Linked DNA regions of Homo sapiens: region 1 is linked to region 2. Evidence: promoter capture Hi-C in human tissues and cell types (Jung and others, 2019). All regions are on one chromosome and are shown on one strand. The core of a region is centred on a gene start or on the middle of the fragment in contact, and the rest is flanking DNA. Distances in the headings are between cores, read along the strand shown. Region 1 overlaps YPEL5 (yippee like 5). Region 2 holds the start of LCLAT1 (lysocardiolipin acyltransferase 1).

What was found. The method cuts DNA at HindIII sites, captures the fragments that hold promoters and counts their contacts. A contact is called where the count stands out against the background at its distance.
Region 1: a contact is called between a fragment that was not itself captured here and the fragment with the promoter of LCLAT1 in region 2, in 1 of the 25 tissues and cell types used here (thymus).

The regions. Positions count from the first base shown.
Region 1 is chr2:30,155,858-30,161,622 of GRCh38, reverse strand. YPEL5 (yippee like 5) reads right to left here. Exons shown (of 3, transcript NM_016061.3): 2 at 4,831-4,995; 3 at 1,090-3,004. The coding sequence starts at 4,971. The coding sequence ends at 2,780. Among named protein-coding and RNA genes, the nearest start is that of YPEL5, 12 kb to the right of the region's middle. The HindIII fragment of the contact is 3,341 bases long and covers 1-3,195 here.
Region 2 is chr2:30,443,936-30,450,317 of GRCh38, reverse strand. LCLAT1 (lysocardiolipin acyltransferase 1) reads right to left here and starts at 3,072. Exons shown (of 6, transcript NM_001002257.3): 1 at 2,935-3,072. RefSeq lists enhancers at 1,908-2,644, 2,842-2,961, 3,172-3,231, 3,272-3,341, 2,645-3,382. The HindIII fragment of the contact is 9,254 bases long and covers 1-6,382 here.

The DNA.
Region 1 (5,765 bases), core at 276-2,775, 290 kb after region 2:
CCCTAATTTCTGCTTAGTTCTGCTTTCTTCCTATAATAGATCTTATCAGTGCAACGTGCTAGCCTGATAAGAATCCTTCAGTTTAATCTTGCTTTATTCCCAACTCACACAGATTAGAAGTAAATTTATATGGCTCCTGGTAGGAAACAGGTGTTAAACAGATGAACAATTAGTGGATATCTGTTTAAACTGAGATTTTTTTATAACTGATGTTTAGAAATGAATCATCATAAACATGTCTGAATATTTTACAACTGGTAGTTTCTTAATTCTGCCCCACCAAAAATTACCTGTTGACTGACTTAAGCCTGGGCTTGGGCCCAGACTCTGATTTAAACATCCTATATGACTTTATGAGTAGGCAAATTTAGGAAACAGATGGTACTGATATTTTTCTCCTCCAATCCCAAAGTAACAACTCCTAACTGTAACTTAAATCTTCACATAATTACTAAAATTATTTTTACCAGGAATGTTCACTTGAGAGTCTAAATAAAAGCACTTTAAGATCAAAACAACTTACGGTTACTGTCACCTAAGACTAAGAGGAAGAATTTTCCTCTTCGGTCAGGGGAAAAAAAGCTTAAATCTGTATATTCCTCAGTAACCTACTTAGTTCTAAGTTCACCTCTACTTGTTTAACTCTCCCACCCCAAAGCAAAAATCATTCCTATTAATTAGTATCCCCATCTCAAAATAACAATGGTTTTCTGTAAATAATCCAAAGTAGACCTTCCAATATATATTTTTTTTTTTTTTGCAAATGGAAGTTTTTAAAAGGCACAGAGGAGCTTGCTGCTGGTACCTGCCAGTTACCTAAAAGTTAACCTAGTAATATGAAATTTTTTTGTTTATATATACTGAACTATAGTTATCAGTATCTAAGGCAAAATGATCTCAGAGAAGTTAATACTGGCAAAGTCAATGTCTTCATGTGTGAATTAGGCAGTTAATCAAGTCAGACATCACTATCATTGCCAAATGAAGAAAGCTACAGGTACTCAAAGATACCAAGTATGTGTTCAGAGATAAAAATTAAGATGATCACTAGACAAGATCAGTGGAAAATAAGCAGCAGTACTGCATCAATGCAAGACAAAATATACTTTATTGTGACAGCAAATGCACATAGTGCTGTAGGTAAGGCATGCTACTAGGAATCTGCATATAATCAAAAGCCAGTATGGAAATGAATGGAAATGAATGCTGTTGTTCTCAGATTGAGTCCATGGTGGAGAAAGGATAGTTTGTGTCCACTTATTTCAAATGCAGTATCATACCTACTTAATCAGTTACCTATGCTTCTAACCAACAGCCCAGTGGCAAATAGGAGGAACTTAACTGTACTCAGAAGTCACTTTTAATATCAACGACAGAAATATTTCACTAATTCAACTGAGGCAAATTTCCTTTCTAGACAAAGGACCTAGAAATTGAGCATGCAAAACATCCATCCATTCATTCATTCAAATAATTAGCCAATTTTACCGTCATTTAATTCCACCAGAAGCAAATACTAGAATATCTAGAAGTAGTTTGGGTAAAGAAACATTTACATTTTAATATTGTGTAATGTCATAAATTTGGGGCTAAAATAACACCAGGTCAAATTTGATCCCTTTGTATGTGAGGGTACAAAGTACAGTTTTCGTTTCAACAGCTGAACTTCTGAGAGAAGAGCTGAAAAAAATGCTAAATAAGAGATCTAGGCCTTTGATGGAAACTATTAGGCTCTACAGACTTGTCAAAAAATCAATGCAAAACTGAGGGGGAAAGGCTGAAATGCTTTGTAAAGCAGTATTTTTAGACAAGTTGCTTCATTTCCCCCTTTTCTAAAACAGATGCAGATTAAATGTTTTTTTGCATGAATGCACATTGACATTCTGTTCAACTGTTTTCTAAATGCAACACTGCGGGTTTCAACAGTATGCTTTCATTTAAACAAAGAATATTATATGCATGGTCAATTTAGTTTAAGAGATGAAAAAAAACTTTACTACTATGAAAATTGCTTATCAAATACTCTCCTCTTTTATAAGGTGTTTTTAAAAGCAACACAGGACCAAAAGCATCCAACTATTACTTTATTTATATTACTATGCTTAAGTTACATGGAAAAAGACAACCCAGCAGTTCTGTCCCATCTCAGAAAAAGTTTCCAATCAACACCAATTATGTGGTGACAAATAACTAGGAATGGTGACATCTTTGGGCCAAGACTGACAAGGAAGAATGGGCTCTGGTGCTACGGTTCATCTCCAACAAGAATATGGCACACCGGCCAGCACAAGCCATGCTAACACTGAGCCTTTAGCGCTGGGCACAGATTCGGATCTCTTCTCTGAAGCTAGCAAATCAAGTGAAATAACTGGGTTTAAAAAAAAAAGTTTAAAATGAAGCCCAAGTTTAAAAACCATACTCCTAACATTTTCCTTTCACAATTGACATAAAACACACTTTTTCACTCTAACAGCCCAGATTTTTTTCCTTACATAGCTCACCACATAGCTGCAGACAGACTCTGCTGCCTCAAGATGTAAACATAGGGTAAAAAATTAACGGCATCTGCATAATATTCTCTCTACACACTGCTGTTGGATGGAAAATACAAAATTTAAAAAAAAAGAAAGAAAGAAAGAAAGGTTCCATCTTAGATTCTCACAACCTCTTGTTCCGCAGTTCATTAATCCGACTCTGATGCTAAGGTGACAGTGTATGTAAGTAGATTTTTGTTTTCAGTGAAGGAGACCTGGGAAAAGATGGATTTCTCTCTGTATCTTCAAGAGTTATCAGATGGTACATGCTCCTCAAAGCCCTCACTCTCTCGAACTAGAGCACGTTCCAGGATCACGCGGCCTTCCTTATATCGCTGGCTGTCTTCAGTGGCAAACTCATAGATCCATCCCAGTTTGCTATTGCAGTTTTTGCAGCTCACATCTCGAACCATGTGGCGGCCAGTGAGCATGACCCGATCTTGAACTTCACTGTACTGCAGGTTAACTACCTAACAAGGGACAAGGAAAATCAAAATTGCAAGGCATGTTAGTTATTTGCCAAGTATGTACAAAATATTATGGTTAATGCAACAGCAACTTCAGAAAAGGAGAAAGAACTTGTTAGTTTAGTCAAACCTATAATACGCAAGACTTATTTATTAGAAGCTGCTGGGGCAGGCAGACATCTGGAAATTGCACTACACTAGACATCTAATGCAATCATGCACTACCGTACTAGCCTAAGTCACACTATTTAAACATACTAGTTACATTTCTGTGTTGCAGGTAAGAAAAAGTCCTGGAATTGGAGCCATAAAATGTAGGTTTGGGTCCAGTTGTAGTAATTCATCATTATTCAATGATGAGTGCAAATAATACAATCCATGTAAAAGAACCTAATGCACCATAGTTATTCCATAAAACAGTCTGTCAGTTTGTTTCTGAAAATATACTGTATATATAGACTGGGACAGATTAAGCCTACTAAAGACCATACATCTGCAGTACATAGTTTTAAAGTGAATTCAAAGACAATGAACACAATGAAGTGGGTCTGAGACAATGTGTAATGAATTTCCACTGATTCTGAATACCCAACAATCTTCTACACTTTCCTTTTCTGTAAAGGGCCAGATAGTACATATTTCTGGCTTTGACGGCTATGTGGTCTTTGCTGCAACTTTTTAACTCTGGCACTGTAGCATGAAAGAAGCTGTAGACAATACGTAATGCACAAGCAGAGCTGTGTTCCATTACATTTACCAAAACAGGCAGCTGTCCTGCTGCAGTGTGCCCTCCTCTGTACCAAAATAAATGTCAAAGAGTATGAGCCATCAATTCTGAGAAAAGCTGCTTCTACATGGAACAGAGGAGTGCCCACTGGGGAAGTTCATCTGATCTTCTAAGAACAGTACCCTAGACTAGCTATGTTCCTTAGCCTAAAATACTTGGAAATTCAACTTTTCTATTATATACCAGATTCCGGGAGGCAGAATCACGGCATCCAATTTGAAAGCAAGCCAGAAATTAGAGAGACAGGCAGACTGGGCACACACTTGCAAATCAGAAAAACACTCTTCCTGTCAGCAAATCCATGGAAGGATGATTGGTGAGCATGAATTAGAGCATGAAAAGTTGGTTAGATGATCGTTATTCGCTGTCAAGTTATAATAGTTTAACGCCACCATCTCCCTATATGGATAAACCAGTGACATGTGGAGAAAGGGAGGTGGGTATCTTGACCTGTTCCTTCCATAGTCTGTGCTGAAGTTGCTACCAAATTCTTACACTGAACATTTCCTGAGGCAACAGAGATCACACTTCTTTATACTTTTTTTTTTTTTTGAGACTGAGTCTCACTCTGTTGCCTAGGCTGGAGTGCAGTGGCGCTATCTCGGCTCACCACAACCTCCGCCTCCCAGGTTCAAGTGTTTCTCCTGCCTCAGCCTCCCGAGTAGCTGGGACTAGAGGCACACACCACCACGCCCAGCTAATTTTTGTATTTTTAGTAAAAATGGTGTTTCACCATGTTGGCCAGGCTGGTCTTGAACTCCTGACCTCGTGATCTGCCCACCTCGGCCTCCCAAAGTGCTGGGATTACAGGCATGAGCCACTGTGCCCAGCCTACTTCTTCAAACTTCCAAGGTTAAAATCACATCCTAGTAACACCTTCCTAAGGTCCCATCAAAGACGAGCTAGTGGGCAATCATTTCTGTAGATTTCAAGCTCTCATTCTGACTCTTCCTGGTATCTCTAAGCTCTGAGGGGGTATTCTGGTGTTGCTGTCAAATACAGCCAATAAGCCCACTTAGGAATCAAACTTTTTCTCACTAACCTTGTTAAAAAGAAATGCTCTGCCAGTGGCGCCTGTGAAACGAGTGGAGATGAGTTCTGAGCGGTTGGTCAGGATCGTATCACAGTTTGCACAAGAAAACAGACGGGTACCACCGATATGATCAAGGAAAATTCTGCCCATTTTTATGGCTGAAGTTCTAAAAACCTAGGAGCAAATAGAAAAGGATAACAAATGCATTATAATAATCATGTTAGCACCTACTTGGGGGGTGTCATAGAGAACAATTTGTATACGTATTTATGTAATCTCTGCTTTGTAGTACTCGATGTGTGAAATAGCTGATCCTGAACAAAAAGATCCAAAGTTCACACACTGAACAAATAAACAGGCATGCCTAAGCTAAGAAGATTTTAAAGCAGTGAGCCAAGGAAGTAAACCTATTAGCCAAGGCCAAAGAATAGTGTCACTTCTCTTATGGCTGGTGTGGAAAAAGAAAATGGAAAGTGGAATTTCAGAAAATGAATGATGTAAAGCACTGGCAGAGAGGTGAGAAAAAAGGTTTAGCATAAATGTTAAGTATACGTTCTGAGCATGTATAATTTCAGAAAAGAATTGTGAGGTTTCAGTGGGATACAAGTAGATAAAGGGGCAATTAGAAAACAAGAAGAGAGTAGTCTGGTTTGAGAACACAGAGTGAGTAGGTCTGTGATCACCAGGTGCATCTACAACTATAGAGGTGATGACTAACTTTAAGTCAATGTCTAGGGAGCACTGTTACTAGGTACTTATTTCAAAATTGTCACAGCTCTGTGAGGTTGTTACCATCACTTCACAGATCATCCAAGTCAAGGCTAAAAAGGTTATTAACTGGTCAAAGGTTACAAAGCTGTTAACTACAGAAAAGTACAGAATGCAATTCACCTAATTCAAAGTTCTTCCATGATCCTACACTGCCTCCAAGATGGTCCAGGCTG
Region 2 (6,382 bases), core at 1,823-4,322:
CTCTCACTTGTCCTAGCTTTGCTCTGTTTCTCCCTACGCCTTTATCCTCCAGTTAGCTCCCTTCCTCTTCTGGCCAGGCCCATCCCAGAAGAAGTAACTGTTCCCTTTTATGTGCTCTCACAGGTCTCTGTACCCACAATTATATTTGAGTCCTTATCATGCTTTATTAGTTAATCATTTATTTATTTGTCTCAACTGTCTACAAACTTCTGGACCTGGGACTTCTCCCTGAACTCCTCAAGGGTAGGGTCAGGAGTTAATGTTTACATCCTAAAGACTTGGCAGGGCTATTCCATAAAGGTTCAATGAAACAATAAATGTCCTAGCCACTTTTACTCATCCTATTTTATTAATAAATAAAGACTGGAAAAATTAGCACAAGTATATCAAAACAACAAGCTTAACTAAAATCAGTTTTCTTTTAAAAGTCCCCCAGCAAATTATTCTTTTAAAAAATGTAATAAAAACAAAAATCCCAATTATTGATTTGTGCTTCCTGATAGAAATTAGTCATAACTAGCCAGGCACAGTGGCTCACACCTGTAATCCCAACACTTTGGGAGGCTGAGGCAGGCGGATCACCTGAGGTCGGGAGCTCAAGACTAGCCTGACCAACACAGAGAAACCCCGTCTCTACTAACAATACAAAATTAGCCAGGCGTAGTGGCACATGTCTGTAATCCCAGCTACTCAGGAGGCTGAGGCAGGAGAATCGCTTGAACCCGGGAGGCAGAGGCTGTGGTGAGCCGAGATCGTGCCATTGCACTCCAGCCCTGGCAACAAGAGCGAACCTCCCTCTCAAAAAAAAAAAAAAAAGAAATTAGTCATAACTCTGTTTCAAAATAACTTTTTAATTAATGGGCAACACAAGTAAGAAGAATATACCACTTAACCAAAGTAAATGTAATTGTTACCACACAAATCACTATTGGACGCCAATGGAATAAACCATGATTATTATTTACACAAGATCACAAACAAAACTACTGGCTTGAAATATGTGTTCATTCTAGGACATTGCTAGAGCCTTTGAAAAAGAAAAATATATATATTAAAAATGAAAAATTTGTACATGAATTAATGTTTCCCCTTAATACATAACACATCTGTATGTCATAGGAAGATAGTAGGCATGGTGGTAGTAAGACAGTAAGAACACAGGCTGGAAACACAATGCTAATTGTGTGATATGGACAAATTACTTAAACTTCAATGTGCTTCAGTTTCCTCATCTGCAAAATAAAGATAATAAATGTATCCGCCTCACAGTGATGCTAGATGACTGAGTTGGCACATATAAGTCCCCGGATTCAGTGCCTGGCAGAGTACATGAATGCAGAGGAATAAATTTCAAATATTTTCACTGTTTTTTTAACTTTTTAAAGCCCTTTCACACATACTGTCTTTTCTTTTTCCTCCCAACAGTGCAATGAGATTGTTTGAATAAGAAATACTCACTTTAGAGATAAGACACCAATAGTGAAGTTGTATGATTACCCTAAGATATTTTTAAGTGGCAGAGTTTGGACTAGAATCCACCCATAACCTCAACCCCAGGACAAACTGACCAAATCTCCATGGATCCAGTTTGGAAGAATCTTTTGGGTTTTCCCCATTGCTTCCTCCTGGTTGTCAGCAACAGCCAGCCTAAAGACCTGGTGGGGGCAGATGCAGACGACCATGTGTTCAAATTAAAAAGTAGGAGAAGCCTAGCTTTCACAGAAACTGACACATAGTTGGCACTCCAGAGATTGCAGCTATTGATGACTGAAACACAAGCGCTATTACGTTTTTCTCAGTTACAGAACAAGGTACTACTCCATAAAATCAAGCCTACTACCAAAAACAAAAGTCAGTTAACATTATGCTTATCTGTCATATCAAGCATATCAAAGTACAATGTGCAACAGAAACCTAAACGAAAAAGTGATGATGTATTTTTACTTACTCTCAAAAAATATGTTTTACAAAAAGGGCTTTCATCAAGTCAGTTTTTTGAAAACTAACCCACGTAGTTATACTTCATGAGATGACGTTTCTTTGAACAAATAAGTTAATGATATGAATAAATATTTCATCTTGGTAATGCCTTCAACACATATCTTCAATACTTTTCTTGGACTTAAAGTGACTTCAATCCCTAATCTCATCTACTGCCATGTACACAAGAAACACAGTTAATGAACTTTAAAGGCAGATGCAGTATTTCCAGGGAAGCCACCTGAACCAGGGAAGTACAAGAAAGCAAAACATCTCCACAACCACATCTAAGTGCCTTATCTTTCAACTTCTTTTCTTCAAATGGGCAATTAGAAGCTACGATACACCTTAAAGATCAGGTTTGGCATCCGCCCTGGCTAGGGCCTACCTTTCTTTTCGCGGCACTGCCACTCTGGCACCTACAGGCAGGCCTTTGGCGCCTGCAGGACTCGCAGGGAAGACAACCCCAGCCCCTGCTCTCCACGGCTCTCGTCGAAGCCCCGCACGTGGTGACCACTTGAGACGTTTTAGTGCATGGGATTTAACAGGGTCAGACCTCAGGTTGCGTTCCGGGACAGTGCAGCTCCCAGACCCGCTGAGGTCGCAGGAGGAAGGTTTTGACGCTCCTAGCGTAAACACCGACGGGACCCTCTTCGCCCCGCGGCTACCTCGCCCTCGCCGCTCGCGCGGCCCCTCAGCACCTGACGCCTCAGCCAGCCTCCAGGAGTCGCTTCCCCGCGCCTCCTTCCACCTGAGCCAGCGACGCTACCGCCACCTGCACCGGGACCCCAAATGCCAGGCCAGTGGCCGTTACCCGAGGTCGCGGCCCGGGGAAGGTCCATGGCTCAGGAGGAAAAGCCCGGGCTGCAGCTCCCCTTCCTGCACCTCTGAGATCCCCCGGCCGCCGCCATTTTCCTCGCGCCGTAACCCCACCTGATAGTTCCAGCCTCCCACCTGTGACAAGCAGGGCACGCCGCGCGACGCCGAGTGGGGTGCGTGGGCAAGCTGGGGCTCCGTAGGGGTCACAACCTCCGTGCGGAACCCGCCGTTAATTCATCCCGTAACGCGGAGGCGTCCGGCCGTCGCCCTAGTAATGCGTCCCGGAAGGCTACGTCCTGATTGGCTGCAGGCGCCGTGACGCAACGGCGTCCCCGGCTGCGTGGGAAACCCGGGTCCCCGGCGCCCCGCGCTTGCTCCACAGCCCGGGATACCCCGGGTACCTTTCTTTGAGAGCTCCTTTAAAGAGGCCTCGCTTATTTCCTCGTCTGGCCTCCTGGAGAGGAGGGACCCACGGAACGGTGGGGTGTAGGGGTGAGAAAACAACGAAATAGGAAATTAGCGGAGGTCATTTGTCCGAGGGAACCTAATGGTTCATTCAACCCCTAGAGCTGCAAAATGGAAAACAGAAATCTGGGAGTTTAATTTACAAGCCTAAATTTGGTGCGCGAAGTCACAGGACAAATCAGTAGTAGAAGCAGTTATAGAACCCAGGTTCCCTGATCAGGAGCACAAAGTTTTTCTAGCACACTCAGTGTTTCCCCAGTCCTAGAAAATGTTTCCTCCCAGTTCCCATAGCAATTTCATCACACTGCTCTTAAAAGGTCTCGATCACCTATCATGGTGTGTCTGTCCTGTCCCCTAACCTACTAGATTGCATGCCCCTGAATGGTGGGGACTGTGGTTAAACCCCTTTTCATTTCCCTTAAGCAATTCCCTCCTCAACTTGGCCTTCAACAAATACAATAAGAATCTTAAAAATAATAAACATAGCTACACATCACACACAGCCACTCATCAGTAGTTCATGTATGTCTATACGTTTTATCCGTTTATTCAACAAAGCACAGAGTGAATATTTTTAAAATTACAAGGTTCCTGACCTCACAAAATTTATGGTGTAATAATAATGACCATCTACATGTTGGCTGCATAGCTTCAATATAGCTAAATTATATCCCCAAATTGCCTGTAAATCAAAGATTCTTGTGCTCTTTTCCTAAATTAGCTTCATAATTTCTCTAAGTTTGTTCCAAAACATTTTAATATTTAAGATGTGCTAAAATTGCATCAGAAAGTGAAGAATGACTACAGAGAGAAACACCAGAACAAAAGTCAATTCTGCCAATTATGCCTATGACTTTAGGCCTCCTTTTTACCTTTAAAATAAGATTACTGGAATAAAAGATCTCCCAATTCTTTTTTGTTGTTGTTAAGAGTTGGCCTGGCTATGCTCCAGAACCTTCAAGGGCTCTACTGTGGTTCTTTGGGGGCTTGCCGGAGGTTCCTCATAGCCTTTGCAGCTCCATTGCAGAGAGCTCTAGCATTGTGAGGTGTGTCCGGTGATACAGCCCAAGAGGCAAGGTTGCCCTTACCGCCCTAACCACAGAGGACAGTGCTGGGCTCTTTCTTTTTTCTTTTCTTTGCTTTTTTTTTTTTTTTTTTTTTTTTTGAGACAGGGTCTCGCTCTGTCACCTAGGCTGGAGTGCAGTGGCATGATTGTGGCCCACTACAACCCCTGCCTCCTGGACTCAAGCAATCCTCCCACCTCAGCCTCCAGACTAACTGGAACTACAGGCATCTGCCACCATGCCCAGCTAATTTTGTGTTTTTTGTAGAGACAGGATTTCAACATGTTGCCAGGCTGGTCTCGAACTCCTGAGCTCAAGCTATCCACCCACCTTGGCCTCTCAAAGTGCTGGGATTAGAGGCTTGAGCCACCGCGCCTGGCCCTGAGCCCGTTCTTGATCTGAGCTACTGATCAGTAGCCACCTTCCACGTCAACTGCTAAAGGGATAGGAACAGAATTCCCAAGGGCAAAATATGCTGATTTCTAAACTCAGAGATCTGCTAAGTGTCATGCTTCTTTCTTTTTGGCAGAGGTGCAAGGTGTAGTAACATGTTTTTCATTCTGGGGAAAATGTCTTGACGTGCCCAAGATCATTGGACCACTTCAGCATCCAAAATGATGTATAGTTTACATAATGCTATTGTACCAGGATCATTCTTTGTTTTGATACATGTTCTATGCTTACACAAGATGTTGACATAAGGGGAAGCTAGGTAAAGAATATATGGAAAAATCCCTGTACTCTCTTTACATCTCTCCTAAGTCTAAAACTACCCCCCCAGTTTTTTAAATAATTATTTTAAAATATCACCAATGTAGCAAGCTCCTGAATTTTTGTGGGGTTTATCCGCGTCTGAAATGTATGTATTTCATCAAGACATCCAGAGAAGTAGTCCCCGACCTTTTTGGCACCAGGGACTGCTTTCGTGGAAGACAGTTTTTCCATGAACGGGGTGAAGGGTGAAGGGGGTGATTTCGGGATGATTCAACCACATTACATTTATTGTGCACTTTATTTCTATTATTATTACATTGTAGTATATAACACTTAAAAAGTGGTGTTAATCTGTGCTCTACTGTCCCAAAGGGACAAGTTTCTCAATCTTTCCTGACCCCAGTAACAGAGCATCACAGCTGATGAATTGCTGAACCTCATGAGCCATTGACTTAATGGTCACATTTAATAGGGCACTCTCTGTAATGCTCAGGGACACACTATGACATACAGGAAATCTCAAGTCCTAGTTCTTATTGTACTTTTGTCATTATTGGGGTACTTTCTATGCCCATGTAATTGCTCACTCCTCTTCAAAATGTGAGAGTAATAAGGGAAAATCTGTGCTCAATAACAGACCTCAGAAAAGAGCCAAGTACATTGCCGCCAATAAAATCGGAGCAAGTCTCTCCCAAGGTAATGAATACAAGCAACATGCAGCCCAGTGCCAGCAGAGGCCACAGATACTTAACTGGAGGCCCAGAGTGGCCCATTTATTATAGCCTACAGTTTATTGCTTGCAAGCAAGAATTGCAAAATTTCTTTTGCAATTCCCTCTTTGCAAAAATTTCTATGAATGAGACTTAGCATTACCTAATATCACCAGTCATCCAACGAGATTCTGAAATTCAAAAGGCATTTGAAATGAAATGTTTTAATTTCTTGAGACATGGAGTAAGCCATGTCTTTGGTAGCTGAGGAGTTTTGGTGCTAGAAGGTACAGCTTGGAAGTAGTGACAAATTTACATTAGCACAAAACAGCTGTGGAGTCTAATTATTAATAGTTCTGATTATTCTCTTTTTGCTCCATCTCTCCCCTTCCCCGTTCCCCACCCCCATCTTTTTTGTTGTTGTTGTTGAGACAGAGTTTCGCTGTTGTTGCCCAGGCTGGAGTGCAATGGCACCATCCTAGCTCACCACAACCTCGGCCTCCCGGGTTCAAGCAATTCTCCTGCCTTATCCTCCCGAGCAACTGGGATTACATGCATGTGCCAACCACACCTGGCTAATTTTGTATTTTCAGTAGAGACCGGGTATCTCCATGTTGGTCAGGCTGGTCT